Regions from separate parts of the Homo sapiens genome. Here regions 2, 3 and 4 are each linked to region 1. The links are contacts of gene promoters, found by promoter capture Hi-C in blood cells and fetal thymus (Javierre and others, 2016). All regions are on one chromosome and are shown on one strand. The core of a region is centred on a gene start or on the middle of the fragment in contact, and the rest is flanking DNA. Distances in the headings are between cores, read along the strand shown. Region 1 holds the start of SLC35G5 (solute carrier family 35 member G5). Region 2 has its middle 31 kb from the start of LINC00208. Region 3 overlaps GATA4 (GATA binding protein 4). Region 4 overlaps GATA4 (GATA binding protein 4).

Region 1 (2,811 bases), core at 207-2,706:
TCCGCCAGCCTCGGCCTCCTGAGGTGCCGGGATTGTAGACGGAGTCTGGTTCACTCAGTGCTCAATGTTGCCCAGGCTGGAGTGCAGTGGCGTGATCTCGGCTCGCTACAACCTCCACCTCCCAGCCGCCTGCCTTGGCCTCCCAAAGTGCTGAGATTGCAGCCTCTGCCCGGCCGCCACCCCGTCTGGGAAGGGAGGAGCGTCTCCGCCTGGCCACCCATCGTCTGGGATGTGAGGAGCCCCTCTGCCCGGCTGCCCAGTCTGGGAAGTGAGGAGCGCCTCTTCCTGGCCGCCATCCCGTCTAGGAAGTGAGGAGCGTCTCTGCCCAGCTGCCCATCATCTGAGATGTGGGGAGCGCCTCTGCCCGGCTGCGACCCCGTCTGGGAGGTGAGAAGCGTCTCTGCCCGGCCGCCCTGTCTGAGAAGTGAGGAGCCCCTCCGCCTGGCAGCTGCCCCGTCTGGGAAGTGAGGAGCACCCCGCCCGGCAGCCGCCCCGTCTGGGAAGTGAGGAGCGTCTCCGCCTGGCAGCCGCCCCATCCGGGAGGGAGGTGGGAGGTCAGCCCCCGCCCGGCCAGCAGCCCCGTCCGGGAGGGAGGTCGGGGATCAGCCCCCGCCCGGCCAGCCGCCCCGTCCGGGAGGGAGGTGGGGGGTCAGCCGCGGCCTGGCCAGCCGCCCCGTCCGGGAGGGAGGTGGAGGGTCAGCCCCCCACCGGCCAGCCGCCCTGTCCGGGAGGGAGGTGGGGGGTCAGCCCCCACCCGGCCAGCTGCCCCGTCTGGGAGGGAGGTGGGGGGCGCCTCTGCCCGGCTGCCCCTTCTGGGAAGTGAGGAGCCCCTCTGCCCGGCCACCACCCCGTCTGGGAGGTGTACCCAACAGCTCATTGAGAACGGGCCATGATGACGATGGCGGTTTTGTGGAATAGAAAAGGGGGAAAGGTGGGGAAAAGATAGAGAAATCAGATTGTTGCTGTGTCTGTGTAGAAAGAAGTAGACATGGGAGACTTCATTTTGTTCTGTACTGGGAGGGGTTCTTCTGCCTTGGGATACTGTTGATCTGTGACCTTGACCCCAGCCCTGTGCTCTCTGGGGCATGTGCTGTGTCCACTCAGGGTTAAATGGATTAAGGGCGGTGCAAGATGTGCTTTGTTAAACAGATACTTGAAGACAGCATGCTCGTTAAGAGTCATCACCACTCCCTAATCTCAAGTACCCAGGGACACAAACACTGCGGAAGGCCGCAGGGTCCTCTGCCTAGGAAAACCAGAGACCTTTGTTCACTTGTTTATCTGCTGACCTTCCCTCCACTATTGTCCTATGACCCTGCCAAATCCCCCTCTGCGAGAAACACCCAAGAATGATCAATTAAAAAAAAAAAAAAGAAAGAAAGAAAGAAAGAAAAGAAGCAGAGTTGGACTCAGCGGGAAAATAGGCGTGCTACCACCTCAGGAGAGTTCCAGGGAAGAACCCCACCCGCACTCCAATGAGGTCACAATGGCTGGAGCTCTGAGGGGCCCAGGCTCCCTGAGCCAGGAGGAGAGGAGAAAGTCCAAGGAAAGATGGCTGGCAGTCACCCCTACTTCAACCTGCCTGACTCCACACACCCATCGCCGCCCTCCGCTCCACCCAGCCTCCGCTGGCACCAGCGCTGCCAGCCCTCTGGTGCCACCAATGGCCTGCTGGTGGCCCTGCTGGGTGGGGGCCTGCCTGCTGGCTTCGTGGGCCCCCTTTCTCGTATGGCTTACCAGGGTTCCAACCTGCCCTCGCTGGAGCTGCTCATCTGTCGATGCCTCTTCCACCTCCCTATTGCCCTGCTACTTAAACTGCGTGGCGACCCCCTTCTGGGACCTCCTGACATCCGAGGCTGGGCCTGCTTCTGTGCCCTGCTCAACGTCCTCAGCATTGGATGTGCCTACAGTGCAGTTCAGGTGGTGCCCGCTGGCAACGCTGCCACTGTTCGCAAAGGTTCTTCCACCGTATGCTCCGCTGTCCTCACCCTCTGCCTTGAGAGCCAGGGTCTCGGTGGCTACGAGTGGTGTGGACTGTTGGGCAGCATCCTAGGACTAATCATCATTCTGGGACCTGGACTCTGGACACTACAGGAGGGGACCACAGGTGTCTACACCACCCTGGGCTATGTGCAGGCTTTCCTGGGAGGCCTGGCGCTGTCCCTGGGGCTTCTGGTCTATCGTTCTCTGCACTTTCCCTCCTGCCTCCCAACAGTGGCCTTCCTATCTGGCTTGGTGGGGCTGCTGGGCTGTGTGCCAGGCCTCTTTGTGCTGCAGACCCCCGTGTTGCCCAGTGACCTCCTGAGTTGGAGTTGTGTGGGGGCAGAGGGGATCCTCGCCTTGGTCTCCTTCACATGTGTGGGCTATGCGGTCACCAAGGCCCACCCTGCCCTGGTGTGCGCTGTCCTGCATTCCGAGGTGGTTGTGGCCCTTATACTGCAGTATTATATGCTCCATGAGACTGTGGCACTTTCTGACATCATGGGGGCAGGGGTTGTGCTGGGCAGCATTGCCATCATTACAGCCCGGAACCTCAGCTGTGAGAGGACAGGGAAGGTGGAGGAGTGAGATAGAACTTGGGAGCCCGGGGGTTGGGAGGGACAGGGATAAATAAAGACAAAGACTGAAGACAAAAAAAAAATAAAAGAAAAAAAATAATTATAATAAATCCTAGGAAAGAGTGAAAGTCTAACTTCCATAGCACATTATAATATTGAGATGTTCAGTTATAATAAAAATATCACAAAGCATGCAAACAAATGAGAAATCTGGCTTATTTACAGGAATAAAATTAATTGAACTATCCTTAAG
Region 2 (2,700 bases), core at 182-2,681, 280 kb after region 1:
ATAGCTCCACAGGAAGCTCTGCCAAGAGGCGTTGGATGACTGAGCTTTTAGCCCACAGATCCCAAGGGGTGACATTTGGAGCCACCTTTCGTAGGACACTCTAAGATTTCAAGGACCTTGTGCAGTCATGGTGGTTCTAACCCTTCGGCCATGAGGGACAGAAATGCTACGACTCTCCGGACATATTTCCCAAAGTACTGCCTTTCTTGGCATTTTTAAGGTGTTATGCTTACATGACTGACCATTGTCAACGTCATGAGGCATGAAAGAGCAGTGGCCAAAGGTGGGGCTATAGCTGTCTTCCAGGTCTCCTAGCTCCAGCGGTGCAAACGCCACCCCAGGCCAGGCTTTCGGGGCTCACCTCCAGAGGTTGGACATGGCTATGGCTTGGGTGGGGGAATCTTGGGCTGATCAAGAATCCCAGGCATCTTCAGGCCCTGCCAGCACACCAAGGGGTGTCAGAGTGTGCATGGACTTTGAAACCATTTCATAGCGGAGCACGTTATTTTGGTTCTTTAAGCCTCTGCTCTTGCCACTTGTGAAGTGCGGATAACATCTTGCACAATGATTGTAAGGATTAGTCAAACAGCATAAGCTACTTAGAAGAATCAGCCCAGAGCACTCCTCAGCAGACCCACCTCTTACCAACATAACAATGCTGAGTGGATCGTTTGTGGCTAAAAACCTGATCCCCTATAAGGAAGAGGAGACAGTGTGCTGGAATCAGACAGATCTGGATTCAAAAACTCTCCGGTGCTCACTAACTCTAGGGCCTTAGGCAAGTTGCAAAACCTCACGGAGCCTCAGTTTTCTCATCTGCCAAATGGAGAGCTGACACCTACCTCAAAGAGCCATGGTGAATAGTAAATGAGAAAACATGTCTACAGCTCCTCACACATAGCAAGCACTCAACGACTGTGAACTCCCAACCCTTCCTCCCATCGAACTCAATATCAAGATTTTAAAGGGAATAAAAAGCCTGGCTTTTGGGTTTCATTGGAAGTGTTTTAAGTGAGCTAAACAATGACTTCTCACTTCTCATAGGTAACATCGAATCCCAGAGCTGGAAGAGCTCAGCACTCACCTATATCACTGCCTATATTTTTACGAGGCCTTAGTAGCAAAGTGGGCTTTTGCATCACATCTCCTTTAGTTTCAAGGGACACACCCCAACTCAGACCAGGATAAGTAACAGTGAAATATTTGGGACCTTGGGTGATACTGGGACTCAAAGGAGGTTTCCAGAGCTTGTTCTGTCTCATCATCTCCTGGCTCTCACTCCCTTTGGCTGTTGACCTTATTGCCTTCTATGGCTGGCAAGCTTTCTCCATACAGAGGAGAAAGAAATTAATGACAGCTCTAGACTCCTATTGTCAGTTTTGCTACCCCAGTAGGAACTTCCCACTGCCAACAGTGAGGTTGAATGAATGAGGTTCAATGAATGAACCTATATCATTCATCCCAGGGAAGGGCACTAATGGTCCTGTTGGCTAATCATTGACTCCACCCCCTGAGACAGTGGCTGTTACACCAATGGCTGGCCAAGCTTGGGATGTGATGAGTGATCCAGGACCTCATGGCAGGTGCTGGGCAGAGAAGGACAGCATGTCTATCATTGTGTTTGCCAGTCACCTAGCTGGTGAGGGATACTGATAGAATGAGCATGCAAGCGTTCTGGCTCCTAATTTTGTAGTTTTCCCTTCTATCATCTCACATTCCCAGGCCCATTGGTAGACGCTATTGATCAAGTGTTTGAAGTGGATTTGTGCTATTATCGTCCCTTAGGAAATTAGGGGGCCTACAGCTCCCACTTAGGGACCAGCAAACCAGAATTTGTGGTAAGGTCAATCTGCAGCTGTAAGACCGTAATCTGGGGGTCTTAAATATTCATCCATAACCAAACCAGCTAAGCCACCCTGCACATGGATAAGACACGCTGGGGGCAGCATTGTTTTCAACCTCCCTGCAATGGTGTCAGCATGATGGCTAGCTCCATCTCCCGTCAGAAATTCAGCATCCTCCTACCCAGACACTAAGCATGTGCCCTCGCACTGTCAGAGAAAGGCTCTTATCTGTCCGTGAATCTGGCTGTGCCTCTATAATAAAACATATCAGGTTGATTGCTTAAATTGTTTATAAATCTGGTGCTATCTTTACTGTTTATAAAAATTCCGGTGTGGTCAATATTGGTCCCTACTGCTCCAATTAAAATGGCCAAATGAACCTCAGCACCAGCTGGAATTTCAACTGTGGCCAATCCACGTGGAGTTTTGCACTTCTGCAAGAGTGGAAGTCATGGAATAGTAGAGCTGGAAGCAGCTCTAGTGACTGTCCAGTCTAATTCTTTCCTTTTACAGATGAAGAAGGTGAGGAACAGGGAGAGAACCACATGACTTCAGGGCAGAGGTTTGCAACAACATTGCTTAATGAAATATTGAGCTCAAGCTGTGGCCAAGTGCTGATCCAGAGGCAAGGCAGCCACCATAAAGAGAGCATGGCAGCCACAGCCACATTTGCACTCTCCTAGTTCCCCTTCCATGGTCATTTGAGTCCTGGGGACACTGGACCTTCAGTCCTTCTGCCTCAAGTGGACCAACATTGGGAGAGTTGTCCTGGCATCTGAGGATTAAAAGCCAGCTCCCCTGATCCCCTGAGGCATCCGCTCCTGCTCCCCAGAAGCACTCCAGAGACCCAGCTTTG
Region 3 (2,700 bases), core at 79-2,578, 400 kb after region 1:
CTGCCTCTGAGTTTCCTCCTGGAAGACTGAGTCTTATGAAGACCCGGTTTTGAGGAGTTTCCTGGCTGGATCAGCAAAACCACAGTGATCCACATTTGATTGATGTATTTTGAGTTTACATTTATTCCCAATGTTTATTTTCTTGTAAAAATGAGCGCATTATTGATTAAAAGAGAGAGACACAATATCCAAAAGGTGGAAGTAGCCTAGGTGTCCATCCGTGGATGAATGAATGAACAAATGTGGTCTGTGTGCTCAGTGGAGTATTACTCAGCCTTAAAAAGGAAGTCTTGCACTGCTACAACAGATGAATCCTGAAGACATTACGCTAAGTGAAACAAGCCAGTCACCAAAGGACAAACACTCTATGATCCCACTTCTGTGGGGCCCCCAGAGCCGTCAAATTCATGACGACAGAAAGCAGAAGAGGGGTTGCCAGGTGGTGGGGCCAGGATCGGGGTGCGGGAGGATGGGGAGTTAGAGTTTAATGGGTGCAGAGTTTCAGTTTTGCACGATGAAAACAGTTGTAGAGATTAGTTTCACAACAGTGTGAACACATTTACTATCACTGAACTGTACACTTAAAAATGGTTAAGATGGCTAATTTTATATGTATTTTATCACAATTTAAAGAAGAGAAAAATGGAGAGGCAGTGTACAAGCTTAGTAAGTAGAAAGTAAATTGTGAAAACCTTTTTCCTAACACTTCATTCTATTTGCTTCTTTGGCCAAAGGTGTAAGTAGCATTGATGGACGATTAGGTAGAACTAGCCATCCAGAATTGGTTCTACAAGATTGCCTTTCTGGCTCTTCAGTGTTTCTCTTTGCCCAAGCCTCAGTGTTATCCTGCTATCACAGCAGGGCTGATCACTAAGGAGAAGGTTATCCTTGGTGAGGAGGTGGAAAATGGTGATTTTTAAATGTTGTACTACAAGCAACCGAGTTTTGATCTGCAAATCTATCATATTTATAATCTGCATTAAAATTTTAAGTCACATTCATAAAATATAGGAGTGGATGCACTTTTAAAATTTCTTTGGAATGCAAATCAGATTGGATTAAAGCTATTAACCATGTGTAATAAAAGACTGTAGATTTTGTAGCAGCTTCATGCTCTACCTAAGATGTCTGCCAAGTAAGTGAAATGTATTTGTAAAAAGGCAGATGGAACTACTAGACGTATTGTCATCGAACTATTCTCCAGGGGCACTGATTTCAGTGCAGGTGCTTTAGATGGGAGGAAGGCTGAGAGCAGGGTCTGTGGGGCCCCTATTGCAGAGAAGCTCCGTTTCATCTACTTTATATTTGATTTGTAAATGTTTGATTTGCTTGGCTAAAGAATTCTGAGGCTAGAGCAACAAAACAAAACAGAAGGAGAGAGGTTGGGAAGAAAACGTGAAGTAACACCAAAAAACTAACTGCTATTGCAAAACAAGGATAAAATAGATAATTCAAGATAGATGTGATTGATTGCCATAAAGATTCATGAACACGTCAGGTGAACCCGAGTCTGGAGGCTAGAGGAAGAGGAGCCGACGGAATTTGAGGAGGATGTGTGTCTGGTCTGAAGAGGAGGTAGAGACTTCCTGCGAAGGCTAGCAGAGTAAAGGTTTGCTTTCTCCCTTTCCTCCCCGAAGACCAGCACATCAGATGAAAAGAACCCCCCAAATCAAGTAAAACTTTTATCTGCAGTGAAATTAAGAGATAACTCATATCCCCAACTATAGAAAACTGCCGAATATAATATAAATCCAGACCACATGGAGGGAAAGACTTCGAGAGCTGGTCCATACCTCTCAGCTCTCCTGCCTGTTCGCCTCCCAAATGCCCAACCTCCAAATACCATCACATGTGGGTTAGGGTTGCCAGGAGTAAATTTCCTTGTTAATAAAATGAATGAGATAGGAAAGAAAGCGGCAATGTTTTCATTATTTGCAGATAAAATACTGGTCAACTTCACTAAACAAATGTAAATTCCCTGTGGAGGGAGCTATAAAGCTTTACTGAAGGGCATAAAAGAAGACATGAATAAATGGAGAAAGATACTAGATCCTTGGATTGGAAAAGTTGGCAGCATTCTTTATTCCAAACTCCCTCAAACAAATCTATAAATTTAACACAGTCTCAGGAAACATCCCAGCAAGATTTCTTAAATACAACGTGTCCAGCTGATTATAAAATTTATATGAAAGAGTTATTGTACAAGAATAGCCAAGATAATTTTTTAAAAGGAGACTTAAGAAAGGGGAACTTGCCTTATCAGAAATCAAAACAAACTAGAGACACACTGGCACGGAAGCTAAAGCAGTGATGTTCATTGCAGCCCTGTTGTGTGTAGCAGTGAAAAATTACTTGCTGAAATGCAGCCAAGGTATTAGGAATGGGGAGGCTGTGGCATAAAAAGATTGGCATTAGCATTGAATCCTTTCAAATATCATGTACAGCTAAACAGCTGTGAGAATTATGGAGTAGAATGTAAGTGTTATGTGCCTTAACAATGCCAAACTAATAAATCCTCTTCGAAGAGAGAAGTAGATCTGTGCTGATATGGAAAAATGTCTAAACAGATATGCGTCCCTGCAGAAACAGCTGCAGAGGAGTATCCATGGTATGATCCCACGTGTGTTCAGCACACTGCTCTGTTCTTTCCTGTACTGAGGGAGCCCATTTCTGGTGAGGATTATTTCCACCACCCCGATG
Region 4 (2,902 bases), core at 120-2,619, 420 kb after region 1:
GAGCAGCCCGAGGTGGTCTTCTCTTTCCAAGGAAAGGGCATTGTTTCTGTGCGCTCTAGATTCTCAGATGTGAGAGCTGGGCATAAACAAAGAATTAATCCTCTGTGTCTTTTCTTGTCTGTTCCCCCCAACTCAGTAGATATGTTTGACGACTTCTCAGAAGGCAGAGAGTGTGTCAACTGTGGGGCTATGTCCACCCCGCTCTGGAGGCGAGATGGGACGGGTCACTATCTGTGCAACGCCTGCGGCCTCTACCACAAGATGAACGGCATCAACCGGCCGCTCATCAAGCCTCAGCGCCGGCTGGTAAGCACGTGCCTCGCAGCCTCCTCTGGGCACCTGGCTGCGGAGCTCTCGCCTTGGTGGGACATCCTCTGGTTTTGAATTTTGGAACTTGAGGGTGTGCATCGGGGATTACGTGGGTGAGAGCCCCATAATAATTCTCACAACTTTAGAGTTAGCTGGAGCCACCAGAATGATCCAGGCTGTCTAGTTCAACCTCTTCGGCACACAGAAACTGAAAGTGAGGCTCAGAAAAGCTAGTGGCCTTGCCCACAGCCACTCAGGTACTGAGTCTCCCATCTAGAACTCTGGAACCAGAATCCAGGTTTCCTGGTTCCCAGTCCAGTGTTGACTGGAGTGTCTCCTCCACCCACACCAACCCTGCAAGGAAGGTCACCTCAGAGGCTGGTCTCTACCCTGACCTCAGTTGATCAGTTGATAAATCCCAAAGCCCAGAAGTGCAAGCAGCTTGTGTTGGGCCCCGTGGCTAGGGAAGAGTTTGGGCCTGGGGCTTGGCTCCTGGCTTCCTGCTCCTTTTTAATATAATTTGATTCTGGTCAACACCAACCAGCTTGCACTATATTAAGGAGGGAAGAACAGAGGGGATAAACCTGGTGCCTCCCTTTCTTGAGGTCCCAGGGCCATTCAGACTTTGATACCATTTGGACACCGTGATTCCTCACTCTCTGCCTGCCCCCGGCACCTGCAGCCCCGGTCAGTTCTCCTCTCAGGAGAAGCTTTCCTGCCGGCAGTGCCCGGCGCTCACTGGTTATTCGCCTGACGGTGAATGATGGTTAGGACTGGAAACCAGGTCTCGATGCCCACGTTCGCTCTCCTCGGGCAGCAGAAACCTTGTTCTGATTTATTCCTCGCAGTGGCGCAGGTGACAGGAGAGTTAGGTGCCGTCACAGGTCAGAGATCTCATGCAGGGTCGTTAGGGCCCAGCCCTGCCTCCCGTTAGGGAGGCCCAGCTCCGCAGCCACACGCGAGGTGGAAGGGCAGTGCACACCTTTTACTTGGACATGAAGCATTTGTTTCCTGTCTTGCAGTCCGCCTCCCGCCGAGTGGGCCTCTCCTGTGCCAACTGCCAGACCACCACCACCACGCTGTGGCGCCGCAATGCGGAGGGCGAGCCTGTGTGCAATGCCTGCGGCCTCTACATGAAGCTCCACGGGGTACGTGGGTCCTGCGCCCATGCGGCATCCTTGCCTTCTGATGCCCATCTCTCAGTCCTCCCTTGTCTTCTTCCTTTGTACTAGCATTCATTTTTCCTTCTTAACAAAGAGACTTAGATTTGGAAGGGGCTTTCAACTACTTTGCTGGCCTCTTCCGTCCTTTACATTGTATAAGTGAATTTTCCGTTTTACAGATGAGCAGGCTACATTTATATGTAGCAGTTTGATGTGTAACAAAGGTGACGTTTCGATTCAGTGGATAAGAAGCTTAAGGATAGTTGTATTGACAAAATTGGCTGTTCATTTGGAAAACAGAAGGAAAGCATGACCTCTACCTCCTACCTTAAACAAAAATAAACTTGGGTGAATTAAGGATATTACATGTAAAACATCTTTGAAATAAACTAAAAGTAAGGCCAGGCATCATGACTCATGCCTGTAATTGCAGCACTTTGGGAGGCTGAGGCAGAAGGATTGCATGAGCTCAGGATTTCAAAACCAACCTGGACAACATGGTGAAACTTTGTCTCTACTAAAAAAAAAAAAAAAAAAAAAAAAAATCTAGCTGGGCATGGTGGTGCATGCCTCTAGTCCCAGCTACTCAGGAGTCTGAGGTAGGAGGATGGCTTGAGCTCAGGAGTTTGAGGCTGCAGTGAGCTCTGATTGTCCCACTGCACTCCAGCCTGAGTGACAAAGTGAGACCCTGTCTCCAAAAAAATAAAAATATTAGATAATAAAATACTGCAAAGAAAATCAGACAATAAAAACACTGGAAGAAAATGTAAGGGAAAGTATTTATATAACTTTGGGGATGGGAGAACTTCTTAAACAAGATTTTAAAACTTTTTAGCCATATAAGAATAGTTAGATATATTTGATTTTGTAAATATTTACTGTTTGTGCCTGGAAATGATACCTAGGGAAAGTAAAGACCAATACACACAGTATCAGAAAAAGGGTTAATATTTCCAGAATTACAAGGAGCTTCTACAAAGCTCTTTAATTTTTATTGGAACATTCTCCATTATACAATATTAACAAAAAGGCAAGGTGCCCAACACTACCTACTATGGCACTATTTTTATAAATATGAGGAAGAATATAATTTATAGGTGGTTGCTTCCACATATACAGAACACCTCTGGTAGGATATGTAGAGATTGGTCACATGGTCACATGTATGCATATATACGTACATGGGGTGCCTCCAGGAGAAAAACTGGGGTCCTGGGGAGAAGGGATTGGAAGGACACTCTTTTTGCTGTGTACCCCCTTGGTACCTTAGACGGGACATATGCAAGTCTTAATTGTTCAAATACAAGTTAAATTAAAACCAAACCAAACCAGAAACAGATAGGTCTTGTAGCCTAATAAGAAAAGAACAATTGATCTTTCCCCACTTCCCCCAAATGGGCAAAAGATATGGACTGACATCTCACAGAAGC

What was found. Contacts are between HindIII fragments. The CHiCAGO score rates a contact against its expected background, and 5 or more counts as called.
Region 2: a fragment that was not itself captured here is called in contact with the fragment with the promoter of SLC35G5 in region 1 in 1 of 17 cell types (naive B cells); the score reaches 5.5 in naive B cells.
Region 3: a fragment that was not itself captured here is called in contact with the fragment with the promoter of SLC35G5 in region 1 in 4 of 17 cell types (total B cells, fetal thymus, naive B cells and 1 more); the score reaches 7.5 in total B cells.
Region 4: a contact is called between a fragment that was not itself captured here and the fragment with the promoter of SLC35G5 in region 1, in 2 of 17 cell types (naive B cells and total B cells). The highest score is 10.1, in naive B cells.

The regions. Positions count from the first base shown.
Region 1 is chr8:11,329,556-11,332,366 of GRCh38, forward strand. It overlaps SLC35G5 (solute carrier family 35 member G5), which reads left to right and starts at 1,457. Exons shown (of 1, transcript NM_054028.2): 1 at 1,457-2,805. The coding sequence starts at 1,552. The coding sequence ends at 2,568. It also overlaps a transcript of MTMR9 not described here. The HindIII fragment of the contact is 5,485 bases long and covers 1-2,811 here.
Region 2 is chr8:11,605,936-11,608,635 of GRCh38, forward strand. No RefSeq gene overlaps it. Among named protein-coding and RNA genes, the nearest start is that of LINC00208, 31 kb to the left of the region's middle. RefSeq lists a silencer at 1-72. The HindIII fragment of the contact is 225 bases long and covers 1,320-1,544 here.
Region 3 is chr8:11,731,126-11,733,825 of GRCh38, forward strand. All of the region lies in intron 2 of GATA4 (GATA binding protein 4), which reads left to right. Among named protein-coding and RNA genes, the nearest start is that of SNORA99, 27 kb to the left of the region's middle. The HindIII fragment of the contact is 1,336 bases long and covers 661-1,996 here.
Region 4 is chr8:11,748,780-11,751,681 of GRCh38, forward strand. It overlaps GATA4 (GATA binding protein 4), which reads left to right. Exons shown (of 7, transcript NM_001308093.3): 3 at 137-306; 4 at 1,332-1,457. Among named protein-coding and RNA genes, the nearest start is that of LINC02905, 11 kb to the right of the region's middle. The HindIII fragment of the contact is 705 bases long and covers 1,018-1,722 here.